Linked DNA regions of Homo sapiens: regions 2, 3, 4 and 5 are each linked to region 1. Evidence: promoter capture Hi-C in 16 types of primary human blood cells and fetal thymus (Javierre and others, 2016). All regions are on one chromosome and are shown on one strand. Each heading gives the region's core, a stretch centred on a gene start or on the middle of the fragment in contact. The rest is flanking DNA. Distances are from core to core; before and after follow the strand shown. Region 1 holds the start of EFCAB12 (EF-hand calcium binding domain 12). Region 2 has its middle 34 kb from the start of RPN1. Region 3 has its middle 22 kb from the start of TRH. Region 4 has its middle 12 kb from the start of TRH. Region 5 has its middle 31 kb from the start of TRH.

Evidence for each region. Contacts are between HindIII fragments. The CHiCAGO score rates a contact against its expected background, and 5 or more counts as called.
Region 2: a contact is called between a fragment that was not itself captured here and the fragment with the promoter of EFCAB12 in region 1, in 2 of 17 cell types (naive CD4 T cells and activated CD4 T cells). The highest score is 6.0, in naive CD4 T cells.
Region 3: a fragment that was not itself captured here is called in contact with the fragment with the promoter of EFCAB12 in region 1 in 2 of 17 cell types (M2 macrophages and M0 macrophages); the score reaches 6.1 in M2 macrophages.
Region 4: a fragment that was not itself captured here is called in contact with the fragment with the promoter of EFCAB12 in region 1 in 1 of 17 cell types (M0 macrophages); the score reaches 5.5 in M0 macrophages.
Region 5: a fragment that was not itself captured here is called in contact with the fragment with the promoter of EFCAB12 in region 1 in 1 of 17 cell types (neutrophils); the score reaches 5.2 in neutrophils.

The regions. Positions count from the first base shown.
Region 1 is chr3:129,427,352-129,429,959 of GRCh38, reverse strand. EFCAB12 (EF-hand calcium binding domain 12) reads left to right here and starts at 1,324. Exons shown (of 9, transcript NM_207307.3): 1 at 1,324-1,520. The coding sequence starts at 1,472. RefSeq lists a silencer at 1,138-1,187. The HindIII fragment of the contact is 3,479 bases long and covers 1-1,993 here.
Region 2 is chr3:128,615,475-128,618,082 of GRCh38, reverse strand. No RefSeq gene overlaps it. Among named protein-coding and RNA genes, the nearest start is that of RPN1, 34 kb to the left of the region's middle. RefSeq lists enhancers at 1-180, 1-263. The HindIII fragment of the contact is 2,303 bases long and covers 177-2,479 here.
Region 3 is chr3:129,995,888-129,998,495 of GRCh38, reverse strand. It overlaps the pseudogene LOC124906284 and the pseudogene RPS17P9. Among named protein-coding and RNA genes, the nearest start is that of TRH, 22 kb to the right of the region's middle. The HindIII fragment of the contact is 3,275 bases long and covers 1-2,608 here.
Region 4 is chr3:129,961,737-129,964,344 of GRCh38, reverse strand. No RefSeq gene overlaps it. Among named protein-coding and RNA genes, the nearest start is that of TRH, 12 kb to the left of the region's middle. The HindIII fragment of the contact is 3,782 bases long and covers 1-2,608 here.
Region 5 is chr3:129,942,643-129,945,250 of GRCh38, reverse strand. No RefSeq gene overlaps it. Among named protein-coding and RNA genes, the nearest start is that of TRH, 31 kb to the left of the region's middle. The HindIII fragment of the contact is 3,757 bases long and covers 1-2,608 here.

The sequences.
Region 1 (2,608 bases), core at 75-2,574:
TAAGGAGTAGGGACAAGACACCCAAAGAGGGTGGAGAGGGGCCTCTGAAACCTTGGGCCCAGCTGGGCCTGGAGGGTGGGGCGAGCTCACCAAGCTCAGGGCATCAGGTGTGGCTTTGTGGTAGGGCTGGTGGTCACATACCTTCCCCCAGCATCTCCATGGGGAGTGTGGGCCCGTGTGAATGCAGGAGGCGAGCTCTGCACCAGGGGAGCTCAGGACACAGCCAGGTTGCTCAGGCTCTAGGCCTGGCTTTTCCTGTTTCTTGCAGGTGAGGTTGCCTGACCTCTGTACCTGTTAACTTGTCTTTTAAAAATGGGATAGTGGTGTCTACCTCACACAATGATGGTAATTATGAAGTTCAGACATGTAGTGCTAAAATGGTACCTGGCTTGCAAGAGTGCTGTGTGAATGTGGCCCATGGCAACAATCTGTTTGCAAGCGTCACAAAGATAGCTTGTCTCAGCAAAGGAATAAGGGCTTAGGTGTTTCTCTTTAACTTTTTAAAAATTGAGCTAAAAGCCACCATTTAACCATTTTAAAGTGTACAGTTCAGTGGTTTAGTACATTTACAGTGTGCAGCCATCATCACTAATTCCAGAAGTTTCCATTTCTTTTTTCCACTCCAAAAAGAATCTCTCCACCTGTTAGCAGTCACTTCAATTACTCACCCCATCCCCTAGCAACCATTCATCTACTTTCCGTGTCTGTGGGTTCGTCTATGCTGAACATTTCACATAAATGGAATCATACAGCACGTGGCCTTTTGTGTCTAGCTTCTTGCTTAGCATACTGTTTTGAAGGTTTATCCATATTGTAGCATGTACTTCATTCCTTCTTATGGCCATCCTATGGATATACCTCATTTTGCTTATCAGTTGATGCACATTTCAAGGGTTTATTATTATTCTCTGGTCCTCAGGTTCTGTAACTCCAAACCATGGCACCCTGCCATAAGCGGGGCAGAACATACCCAACACCTCTATCTGGCCACAGCTCACTTTGGTTCTTCCTAACCCTCTGGAGGAGGCAGGGCCTATTTTTCCTATGAGAAAACTGAGGCCTAGAGATATGGAGACCTGCGGAAGATCCCACATTTCACGGGAAAACCGGAGACTTTCTACACTGGATTCAGGGACTACTGGGCCGAACAAAGAAATCCCGCCTTTCACCAAGCCCAGAACTGGGCGGGGCGTGGATTTGCTCGCTGCCCCTCCCAGAATTGGACGAAAACGAGGTGGGGCCAGCAGGCGCTCGGCAGGGCGGGCTCGCTCTTAACACGTGACAGCGCTCAGCCAATTGGCGCGGGGCGTCCGTAGCCACGGCAACAGGTTGCTTCTGCAGTCTGAGCTGAGCGCCTTTCGCACGACTTGGAGTTACGGTTTATCTGATACCCCGGTACCCCTACGCAAGCAAGCCCACATCGACACACATTCACACACGCCCTTCAGCACCCCCTCCCAGCACCACGACCATGGACGACGACTATGAAGCGTACCACAGTCTGTTCTTGTCGCTGCTCGGTAAGCCCCGGGAAGAAGCGTCTGCAGGGAGCGCTCAGCGCCCTAAGGACGCGTGAAAGTGGGGTGAGGGCAAAAACTCAGCCACAGATATTGTGCCGACCCCCTCTGGGTGAAGGGTTGCCATGGAGTCGGGGGCAGGTCATGTACATTTCTGAGATTTCTATCTGAGCCTAGTTGGAGGAACCAGAGGCCCGACCCATGTGACGGGAGCCCTCCAGCTCGCCCTGTTTCTCTGCAGGACATTAATGTATTCAGTACTGGAGGAGAGGCATGGAGAAGACGTCAGTCTTCAAGGTTTTGGCAGTAATGTGCTGGGGACCAAGTTCTTGGCAAAGCAATGCAGCTTCACGGGTAAAGGACAGAGATAAATGGATAATTACAGAATAAGAAGGGGTAAATGCCGGGCCCAGGGATGACACCCAGGAGTAAAAGGTGTGCTGAGGGTATGGGATGGGGAGGAACAGTTCCAAGCTTTTGGAAAAGATCTTTACACTGGAGCTTAAAGGATAAAAAGGAGTTCTCCAAGCCAAAAGGGGAAGGAAAAGCATTTCGGGCAAGGAAACAGCATGACCCAAGAGGTCTGGTGTCTCTGGAAATGAGGTGAGAGAGGTCAGAAGGGACAAGATCATAAAAGATACTGCAAGCCAGGAGATGGAGAGGCCACTGGGAGTGGCAGGACTGGATTGGGAGCAGTCAGAAAAGACCTGAGACTGAGTTGGCAGACTCAGAATGTTGGTGTGGGGAGATGAGAGCTGGGGGCTATAAAGCTTGAAGACTGAAGGTCTTCTCCATGCCGCTTCTCCAGCACTGAACACATTAATGCCCAGTGGAGAAACAGGGAGAGCTGGAGAGGCTGGCCACCTTTCCCAGGCACACAGGTCAGGGCTCTGGTCAAATGCCCAAGCTAAAGATGCTGGGAGGTGAGGGAGAAGGCCCAGGCTAGAGGGAACTACGGGACTTGGGGGCTGGTTGGTCAGGAAACACAGAAGAGGCAAATAAAGATGGTTCTCAAGTTGGCAGCTGGGGGACCTGGTAGATGGAGATGTCTTCCACAGAGATAAGAGAACGTACTCAGAGGACCCAGTTAG
Region 2 (2,608 bases), core at 79-2,578, 810 kb after region 1:
GCCGCAGCCCCTGCTTCCCCTAGGGAACCCCCGGGCGGCTGTGCCTCACGGAGGGGCCCTGCTTTACCGCGGCTGCATACCACCTCGGGCCATTTGGTCAGCTGCTTCACCAGCTCTCTTCATCCTCTTACTCTCCCTGAATCTTTTTCTTCGTTTTTTGGAGCAGTCAGAAAGCTTGGCCGAAATCAAGATAACTCGCTGGGCCCGCGTGCAGATTGGTGGGCGCCCTCTGCTGGGCCGGCGGGCCTCTCGCAGGCCTGAGGAGCGAGCTGCGCCTGCGCCCTGGTGTCCCTTCGTAACACTGCGGCACGTCACGAGGCGGGCACCGGGGAGTATGGGCGAAATCGCAGGCGCAGACGGCGGGCTCGGGCTAGAAAAGTCGCGCATGCGTGGGGCTAATTTAAAGGCGGCGCGGCTCCAACAGAACCAAAGCCAATTCTCCGGCTGTGGCGCCACCTACGGGTGTGGGCTCGTAAACGGCCTCCTCTGGCCGGACTAGGACTGGGTCTGGGGTCGGCGGGCTCAGGACCACTGGGCTGCTGAGGGGCTTAGCCATGGGGACCTGGGCTCTCAGCTGCCCTGGAAAGCCACAGGGCTAGCTGGGCTGGCCAAGGCCGGTGGCTCCCCCAGCATCCTGTGGTGGGTGCATCCCTGGGCCCAGTGGGGCATCCGGTGCTGCCCTCCCCACCTACGGGCTTACATCCTTTGGTTGCTGGGACAGAGCGCCCTACGCCACGCGCAGCCCTGCGCTTCCCTGATCCTCGGTTTCCCCAGTAGTAAACAGGGCCTCAGTTTCCCCCTTGTAAATCTCAGGGAGGAGGTGAAGTGGGGCCCTAGGTGTAAAGCCAGGTTCAGGCTGGGCATCCCTTGGCGCAAGGTGACATGCCCCAGACACCTGACACCTCTCAGTCTCAGACCCAGCGTACTTTCTCTGTGGCCCTCATGTGGCCGTATAGGAGTGGCCCACCCACTCCCACTCCCATTCAGATCCCCAGGCCACAGTGCCTTTTGTCCAGCCTTGGCCAAGATGCCTGACCCTAGTGGCCTGGCCCTGGCTGCTTCCATGGCTGCAGCTTTGGGATGTCCCTGTAGTCATAGGTGGCCTCATGGCAGTCCCCCAGCCTTGAACCTGGACCCTGGCTCAGGGAGGGGAAAACACGGCTGAAGAAGGGCTGGGTGTCACTTTCTCTCTTCCATTTGTCTTGGAGGCTGTCATGGGAGAAAACCCCAAAGGACCCAGTGCGCCCTCACAGTTTCACCACAAGTATCCTGACCGGGCGTCTGGTGCCGAGCTGATAGTGCAGGCCCCGGCCGCAGCCCCGCCGGAAGCCCATGCTGCCAGCGGTTGGGGGCCGCAGGCTCAGACAGGAAATGCCCCCGAGTGTACCCCAGGGCCCTCTGCAAAGGCCTGATGCTTTGGATGAGGCCTGGCGCCATTTTGAAGCTGGGCCTGACTCTGGGACTCTGGCCTGGTTCTGGGGCTGGTGGCCTGGGATCTGGGGACTGCTTTGTCACCTGCCTGGGCAGGTGTGGGAGATGACAGGGAGGGAAGAGAGAACCTTCAAACTGGGCTAGACCTGAAGCGAAAGCTGAATGATGCAGCCTGTCCCCTACCATGGCCAACCCCTTCATGGTGCCCCCAGCCCAGCCCTTTAGGGTCTCAGCTTCCATCAGGCCCTTAGTTCCATATGTGGTGTGACAGGCCCAGGACTAAATGCAGGGGACACAGAAGGGAGCAGACAGCAGAAGTGCTGGGCATCAGGAAAGGCAAGTCAGAAGGTAGGGCCATCAGGAGGGTCCATCGCAGCATCTGAAGGATTTGCTTGTGGGGGTTGGTGGGGAGGGAGGAGCCCAGACTCCTTTTTTGACTTCCACTCAGGGGATAGAATCCAGAAAGATTTAAGACGAGTGTCTCAGTCTGTTAAGGCTGCTATAACAAAATACCATAGACTGGGTAGCTATAAATAGAAATTTGCTTCTTACAGTTCTGGAGGCTGGGAAGTCCAAGATCAAGGCACCGGCAGATTTGGTGTTGAGAGGTCCTGCTGCTTGGTTCAAAGATAGCACCTTCTCGTGTCCTCACATGGTGGCAGAGATGAGGGAACTCTCGGATGTATCTTATAAGGGCACTAATGTCCATTCATGAAGGCTCTACCCTCATGGCCTAATCACCTCACAAAGGTGCCACCCTCTAATGCTTCACATTGGGGGTTAGGTTTCAACATAAGAATTCTGGGGGGATGCAGACATTCAGTCTGTAGCAGTGGGAAGGACAGGAGCCTGTTCAAATGCTGATGGGAAGGAAGGAGGTAACAGGGACATAAAGGCTGAAGATCCAGGAGAGAAGGGGCCAGTGAATAGATCCCAGTAGAGCAGGATTGGGTGGGATTGAGGGCTTAAGGCAGTGATCTCATGGGAGAGCCCTGAGAGACTGTGCCTTCATTAGCACTGAGGAGATCAGCAAAGACCTGTTCAAGCTTCGCCTCCTGGGCAGCCTTCCCTATTCTCCAGGTGGGCTGAGATGTCCCTACCTTACACTACTGGACACTGCTTTCTGAAGTGGAATGGACTGTTTGCCTCCCTACACTGGGTGCTCTATTTCAGCAGA
Region 3 (2,608 bases), core at 37-2,536, 570 kb before region 1:
TTTTTTTTGAGTAAAAACTGCTTCAAGCCATTTTTGGAATCAAATAGAGTGGCTACCAGAAATAGGCTGATTTCATAGTTAGGCATAGTGGTGCGTGCCTGTAGTCCCAGCTACTTGGGAGGCTGAGGCAGGAGAATGGCTTGAACCTGAGATTGGCTTGAGCCAAGATCGTGCCAGCCACTCCAGCCTGGGCAACAGAGCAAGAGAAGGAAAAGAAAGAAAGAAAAGAAGGAAGGAGAAAGAAAAAGAGAGAAAGAGAGAGAGAAAAAGAGAGAAAGAAGGAAGGAAAGTCAGAAAGAAAGAGAAAGAAGGAAGGAAGGAAAGTCAGAAAGAAAGAAAAAGAAAGGAAAGAGAAGGAAAGAAAGAAAGGAAGAAAAAGAAAGAAAGAAAGAAAAAGAAAAGAAAGAAAGGGAGAAAGGAGGGAGGGAAGGAAGGAAAGAAGAAGGAAGGAAGGAAGTTGATTTCATTTCAGCCAGGCGTGGTGGCTCACACCTGTAATCCCAGCACTTTGGGAGGCTGAGGCAAGCTATATCACTTGAGGTCAGGAGTTTGTGACCAGCCTGGCCAACAATGGTGAAACCCTGTCTTTACTAAAAATACAAAAATTAAGGCCAGGTGCAGTGGCTCATGCCTGTAATCCCAGCACTTTGGGAGGCCGAGGTGGGTGGATCACCTGAGGTCAGGAGTTCAAGACCAGCCTGACCAACATGGAGAAACCTCGTCTCTACTAAAAATACAAAATTAGCTGGGCATGGTGGCGCATGCCTGTAATCCCAGCTGCTCAAGAGGCTGAGGCAGGAGAATCATTAGAACCCAAAAGGTGGAGGTTGCAGTGAGCCAAGATCACGCCATCACACTCCAGCCTGGGCAACAAGAGCAAAACTCCGTCTCAAAAAAAAAAAAATTAGCCGGGCGTGGTGGGTGCACCTGTAATCCCAGCTACTCGGGAGGCTGAGGCAGGAGAATCGCTTGAACCCAGGAGGTGGAGGCTACGGTGAGCTGAGATCTCACCACTGCACTCCAGCCTGGGTGACAGAGTGAGACTCCACCTCTAAAAAGAAAAAGAAAAAGAAAAAATAGATTGATTTCAAAAAGATTAATCACTGAAAATAGCTGTTGTTGGAAATGGTGTGGAGCAATGAGTTCTCTGAAACCTCACTCACTATGGGTGGGTGTATAAATTGGGAGCGGCTTTCTATGGAGCAGTTGGCAGTATTTGTGAAAATGTTAACTACCCATGCCCATTGTCCTAGCAATTTTGCTTGTAGGTGTTCTATCCCACAGAAACTCGCATGTCTATACAAAGACAGGAGCAAGACTGCTTATGATGGCGTTGTTTATAATCAGGAAGTGCTGAAAATAACCTAAATATCCATCCATAGGGGTGTGCATAAGTGACTTTTGATGCACCCATGCGTCAACCATTATAGTGATTAAAAAGAACAAGGGAAATATCTAACGACTGACATGAGGACAGCTCTAAGATGTGCGGTGGTATCAGAAAAGTCTTGAGACAATAGTGTGCAAATATATGTGCATGTGGCTGTGTACAAATGTAGAGAAAATGATCTGGAAAGTTACAGCCCTGGTCCCTGTTGCCTGGCATGTTCCAGAAACAGCAAGGAGGCTAAGGAGGATGGTGTGAATGAGGGGAGAGTAGGAGGAGCTGGGTCAAAGAAGTCGCAATAGGCAGAGGACATTGTCCCTGCTGGGTGTGCAGGACCCTCCCCCTTGGCCACCACAGTGCAGCTAGATCCACCAGCTCATGCCCAGAGTTTCTGGTTCTTCCCTGTATTAATGATACCTTTCTATCTTCTATGTTTCTGATGCTTTGACATCTGGGGTCTTGGTAACCCTGGAGGGATTGCTCCTCCCAGGGATGGCCAAGAGATAGTAAAGGACTGGCCTGTAAGTGTGCATTTAACATGCAAACTAATCAATGCACAGCCCCCACCCGCACCACCCCCTTTATCTCTGGGCTCTTTCACTCCAGGCCACTATTCTCCTGCCCTAATCACTCCAGGGCCAGGTACCAAGCATCTAGGGTCAGCCGCTATGCCCCAAAGCCTGCTGAAATTATTCAATCTAGCCAATCCTAAGCCTGTTTACCCTGCCTCACCTGGAAACTAAAGTAAAGGATCTTGCCCCATTTGCCCCTCACACCCTCTGCCTCCTGATTGACCCTCATGCCTCTCCTTGTGGCTCTTCCTGGCATGGCATGCCCCCTCCTCTTGGGACCTGTGAGTAACAAACTCTTTTCTGTGGCAGTCGTCTCCTGAGCTGTTGGTCTCACTGTACTTGAGTAATAATAAGACTTACATCCGTATTTGAAACACACCCCACAGGGTGTGGGATGGAAAGACCTCAGAGCCCCCAAAATGACCAAATGATGCCAGAAGTACAAAAGAATTTATCGTTCATTGGCCACAGAACCAAGGTTGACTAATGAGACCCAGGAGACAGGAGGGATCCAGGTAGATAAACCCCCTCTCCTTCCATCTTTCTCTGGACTATCTGAGACTGGATTTCTCCTTGCAGTCCTCCTGGAGGTGTTCTGTGTAAGGTGGGTGTACCTCCAGAGCAGCCACGAGGGTGATTGTGGAGTGAT
Region 4 (2,608 bases), core at 54-2,553, 530 kb before region 1:
AAGCAGAAGGACAGCTCTTTCCTTCTTTGCCTTTTCCTTCCTCGCATTACATGTAGCCTTGGTAGGATACCCGCCATGCTGTCCAACCTCTCAGGGCCAAGCAGTGGTCCTGTGGCTCCCACTGTTTCCTGGGACCTAGACTCTCCAGCAGAGAGATGGCAGATTTGCTGCAGGGACATTTGCAGCACAGCAGCAGCTGCACAGGAACAAGACGGTTGAGAAGTCCTTGCTGCCCAGCTGGACCCTGCAGGGGCCTCCTTTTGCTCTCAAGCCTGACCTTTTGGTCTTCCTGATGAGCAACAAATCCCCCTTTTCAGCTAAGCTCGCTGGAGTTGGGTTCTGTTGTCACCAATCCTGACTGATAAGGCCTCCTCCTCTGTACTGGGGCCTCAGGGGAGTCATGGACTCAAATCCTGGCTGTGATTTCAGGAAAGAGAGATTGAGACGGGGAAGAGGTTGGAAGAAGGATCTGAGGACGGGGAAGGGCAAGGGGATACAATTGGGTCAAATGAACATCAAGGACGATAAGAAAAAAAAGAGTCCCACTTAGAGGCCCAAAGATGAAAGAAATGCTCTCCACATGATCACAAATAATTCTCACAAGAAATGTGAAAGTCTTATTCCCATTTGTATAGGTAACTATTATTTTTGTCTGTTCAGCCTCCAGGCCCCTTCCTTCTTATAACAGGACCCCGGGTTTCCAAGGGGTCCTTACCTTCCCCTGCTCTCTAGCCTGTTGGTTTATGTGGAGTTAGCACCACCCTGGGATCCTTGTGCCCCAGGCCTAGCCAATCAGAGTGTGAATCTCCCATCTACAGGGACTGGTTCAAGGACAGATGTATGGCCAAGCCAGGCCAATGAAACTCAAACTTGAGATTTTTGCTGAAACGGTGTGGGAAGAGGTGTTCTTTCATGCTTGGGGTGTAGGGGTACAAGCCAAGCACTACTGGGCACTATTTCTGCTACCTCATGGAAAGATTCTGCTTACGAATGATGCCACCACAAAGTTAATTGAACCAGAAAGTGTAACTGGCTTTCCATGACACTGTTTGAACATATCACTGGACTCTTCAGTTACAGAAGCTGATACATTACTTTTTTGTTCTACTCAGTTTGAGCTACCCCTTCTGTCACTTGCAACCTAATGACTAACAGATGAAACTCAAAGATGTGAAGGGATCCCATGGCTGGGCCATGGCTTATTCCATGCCAGGGCAGGAAAAGGGAGCCACATTCCCTGGCCTTAGCCTCTGCCTCAAACTCTGAAGGCCTGTGCTTGAGTACCAGCTCTGCTACTGATTCACTGCAGGCCTTAGGTACATCACTTAACATCTCTAGGGCTCAGTTTTCTCTTCTGTAAAATGAGGATGATAATAATATTTACATACTGGTAATAATAACCTAAAATTTTCAGCAAACACTAATTGGTTACTACATTCTGGTCCTTATGCAAAGTGTTTTACATGTATTATTACATTAAATCTTCATAAAATTGAATGATGTGAGTATTGCAGTTAATCCCATTTTACAGATGAGAAAGCTGAGACCCAGAAGGTTGGGCAACTTGCCCGAGGTCATCAGGTGGAAGACCAAGTCTTTGACTCTAAATCACCATGTTATACACTCTCTCAGATGTTGAAAGTACAGCTGGCAGGGAAGGGGCAGGGTTCAGGGAGCTTTGTCCTGCCTGCTGGCTCACCAAGGCCCAGCTACTTTAAAAAATAATAATAATGGCCGGGAACGGTGGCTCAAGCCTGTAATCCCAGCACTTTGGGAGGCTGAGGCGGGCGGATCTTGAGGTCAGGAGTTTGAGACCAGCCTGGCCAATATGGTGAAACCCTGTCTCTACTAAAAATACAAAAATAGCCGGGCGTGGTGGCAGGCGCCTGTAATCCCAGCTACTCGGGAGGCTGAGGCAGAATTGCTTGAACCCGGGAGGCAGAGGTTGCATTGAGCCAGAGATTGTGCCATTGCACTCCAGCCTGAGTGACAGAGTGAGACTCCGACTCAAAAAATAATAATAATAATAATAATAAATAATAATAATAATAAACCTATTCTGCACCTTACAGAAGGAGCTCCAGTTCTCCCTGAGAAGTGTCCCCATTGGGGAAGTGACCCAAAGTCTCATGTGTCTCTGGGAGATAAATCAAGATCAAGGCTAGGGCCTTGGGACTCAGCCTAGCCCTGTGAACAATATCTCACCTGGACTTTCAAAAGATGGGTAATTTCTCTGGTCTCATTCATATGTGGTCATCAAGGGGAGGCCAAAACACTTTTAAGGATAATACGCTTTAGGTGACTGAGTGGAAGAGTGAGTAGGGAGTGAATAAATGCATGAGTAAATCTATGAATGAGTGAGTGAGTGAGACAGAAGTGAACTGGTTTCCTGCCCCAAGGAGCTCATAGGGAAGCTGCGAGACAAGAAAAACAAACAAACAGACAAACAAAAAACAGCAGAAACAATTAAAGAGCAATTATGTGTCAAGACACATAGCACTGATCATGTGCTATGGGGGAAGCAGTCTCCACGGACAGGAGATGCCCAGTCAAGCCTGAACTATGAGGTGAGGCTAATCAGGAGCCTGGAAGGTGATTAATATTGGAA
Region 5 (2,608 bases), core at 55-2,554, 520 kb before region 1:
TACCTACTTGTTCAGTGGTTCTTGTCTGTCTCTCTTGCCAAGCTCCAAGACAAGGTTGCCATGCTTCTAGGTGTAACCTCGGCACATAGTATGTTCTCAAATATTTGCCGACTGCTTCTGTTGTAATCTTTCTGTCTCTGGAAAAGGCAACTCTAACCTAACAGTTGCTCAGGCAAAAAAACTTTTGGATCATTCTTGATTCCTCTCTTTTTATCATGCCCCACCCCCAACCATCAGCAAATTGTATTGGCTCATCCTGCAAAATACATTTGGAGTTCCACCCACCCGTGCACCTCCAGAGCAGCCACCCTGGTCCAGCCGCCTTCACCGCTCACCCAGACAACTGCAGCAGCCTCCACTCCAGCCGCCCTGCTTGTGCCCTGGCCCCTGTGATCTACTTTCTACACAGCTGCCAGGCAGTTTTCTCAAAACCGAAGTCAGATCACGTCCCTTCACTTCTCAGAACCATCCTAGGGCTCCCTGTTTTGGGGAGAGTAAAAGCCAAAGTCCCTACAGTGGCCCGCAAGGCCCTGCACCACCACCTGCCTCCTGTACTCCTCTGTCCTCCCTCCCGCCACTCTCCCCTTAGCTCAGTGTCAGAGGACTTTTGTTGATACCTGAAAACACCATGCCCATTCCTGCCTCAGGGCCTTCGTACTTGCTGTTCCTTCCACCTGGACTGCTGGGCCCAGATCTTTGCTTGGCTCACTACCCACCTCTTTTGGACCCCTGCTTAAATGTTCCTCCTCCTGGCCATCCTGCACAGGACATCACATATGCATGCATGCACACACACGACACACATGGGTATATGGGCACGCACACATACACACACCTGTGCACATACCGACCAACCTTCTCTTAGTTGTTACCTAACACATTGTGTATTTAATGGTCTCTGTTTTTATCCGTCTCTCCCGCCAGAATGTAAATTCAGGAAGGCAAGGACTTTATCTTTTTTGCTCATTGCAGTGCTCTCGGCTTCCAGCACTGTTCCTGGTACCTGGTAGCTGCCATGAATTACTTTTTAAGTGAGTTCAGGCTGCAGCCATCGAGGCAAGGCACACTGGAAGACACACACATTCACACACACATTCACACACACATTCACCCAGACATACTCACACACATACACACACACACACACTCACACACATTCACATTTAAAAGCTAAACCAACTGGCCGGACATGGTGGTTTATGCCTGTAATCCCAGCACTTTGGGAGGCCAAGGTAGGCAGATCTCTTGAGCCCAGGAGTTTGAGACCAGCCTGGCCAACACGGTAAAACCCCATCTCTACTAAAAATCCAAAAATTAGCTGGGCATGGTGATGTGCGCCTGTGGTCCCAGCTATTCAGGAGGCTAAGGCGGGAGGATCCCTTGAGCCTGGAAGGCGGAGATTGCAGTGAGCTGCGATCGCACCGCTACACTCCAGCCTGGGCGACAGAGTGAGACTCTGTCTCAAAATTAATTAATTAAAAATTAAAAACAAATAAATAAAAGCTAAACAAACAAATGAACAGACAGACAGCTAGAATAAACTCCATGCCCCACTCCGCCCTGCTCCACAGTTACTGACTCATCATTCCTCGGGTGAAAACCTGGTTGGGACCGCTCTTCTTTTTGTCTGCCCAGCACTCACTGTCCCATCTTCTGAGACCACCCTGCCTTTCCTTTGGAGACCACCCCCAACCCCAATATCAGTCCAGGGGCATTGAGTGGACAGATCTATCTGCATACCAGAGGTGGCCTGTGACTGAGACCATATCCATGAGAGTTGCAGCAACTAGCTTCTGGATAGGCATATGACACAGTCTAGGCCAATCAGTGATCCCCAGGATGTCTGTGGAGTCACTGTGAATGAGGTCGTCTCTTGCTGGTGGTGGCTAAGTTGTTTTAGGGAGTCTGCCTGGAGCTGTGGGCAGCCACATTGCCACTGGGAGAAGGAAGGTGGCCTGGAACAGAATCACTACAGAGAGAGGCAGAGCTGAGAGATAAAGAGAGGCAGATGCATGATGACATCATTTGATGGACTTTTTAGTTACATGAGGGAATAACTTTTCATTTTTTCTTTTTTTTCTTTATTGTTTTAACTGTTAGGGCCTCACTCTGCTGCCCAGTCTGGAGTGCAGTGGTGTGATCACAGCTCACTGCAGCCTTGAACTCCCAGGCTCAAGCAATCCCCCGCTCTCAGCCTCCCGAGTAGCTGGAATTACAGGTGCATGCCACCACACCCAGTTAATTTTTTTTTAAAAGTGTTGTACAGATAAGGTGTCACCTTATTGCCCAGGCTGACCTCAAACTCCTGAGCTCAAGTGATCCTCTTGCTTCGGCCTCTCAAAATGTAAGGTTTACAGGCACGGGCCACTGCACCGGGCCCTCTTTTTTTCTTAACTCAATTTGAGGTGGGTTTCTGTTACTTGATCATGACTAAAACAATGTCTTGAGACGTGTTTCAGAATTTCAGACACTGTCACCCTGCCTCAGGCAAGGACACACTTCCCATGAAGCTCATTCCTTCTGCAAACCTTTGCTCAAGCCATGCCTCCCTCCCAGAGGGCCCTCCCGTTTCTATCCAAATCTTGCCAGTCTTTAAGGCCTGTCCTTT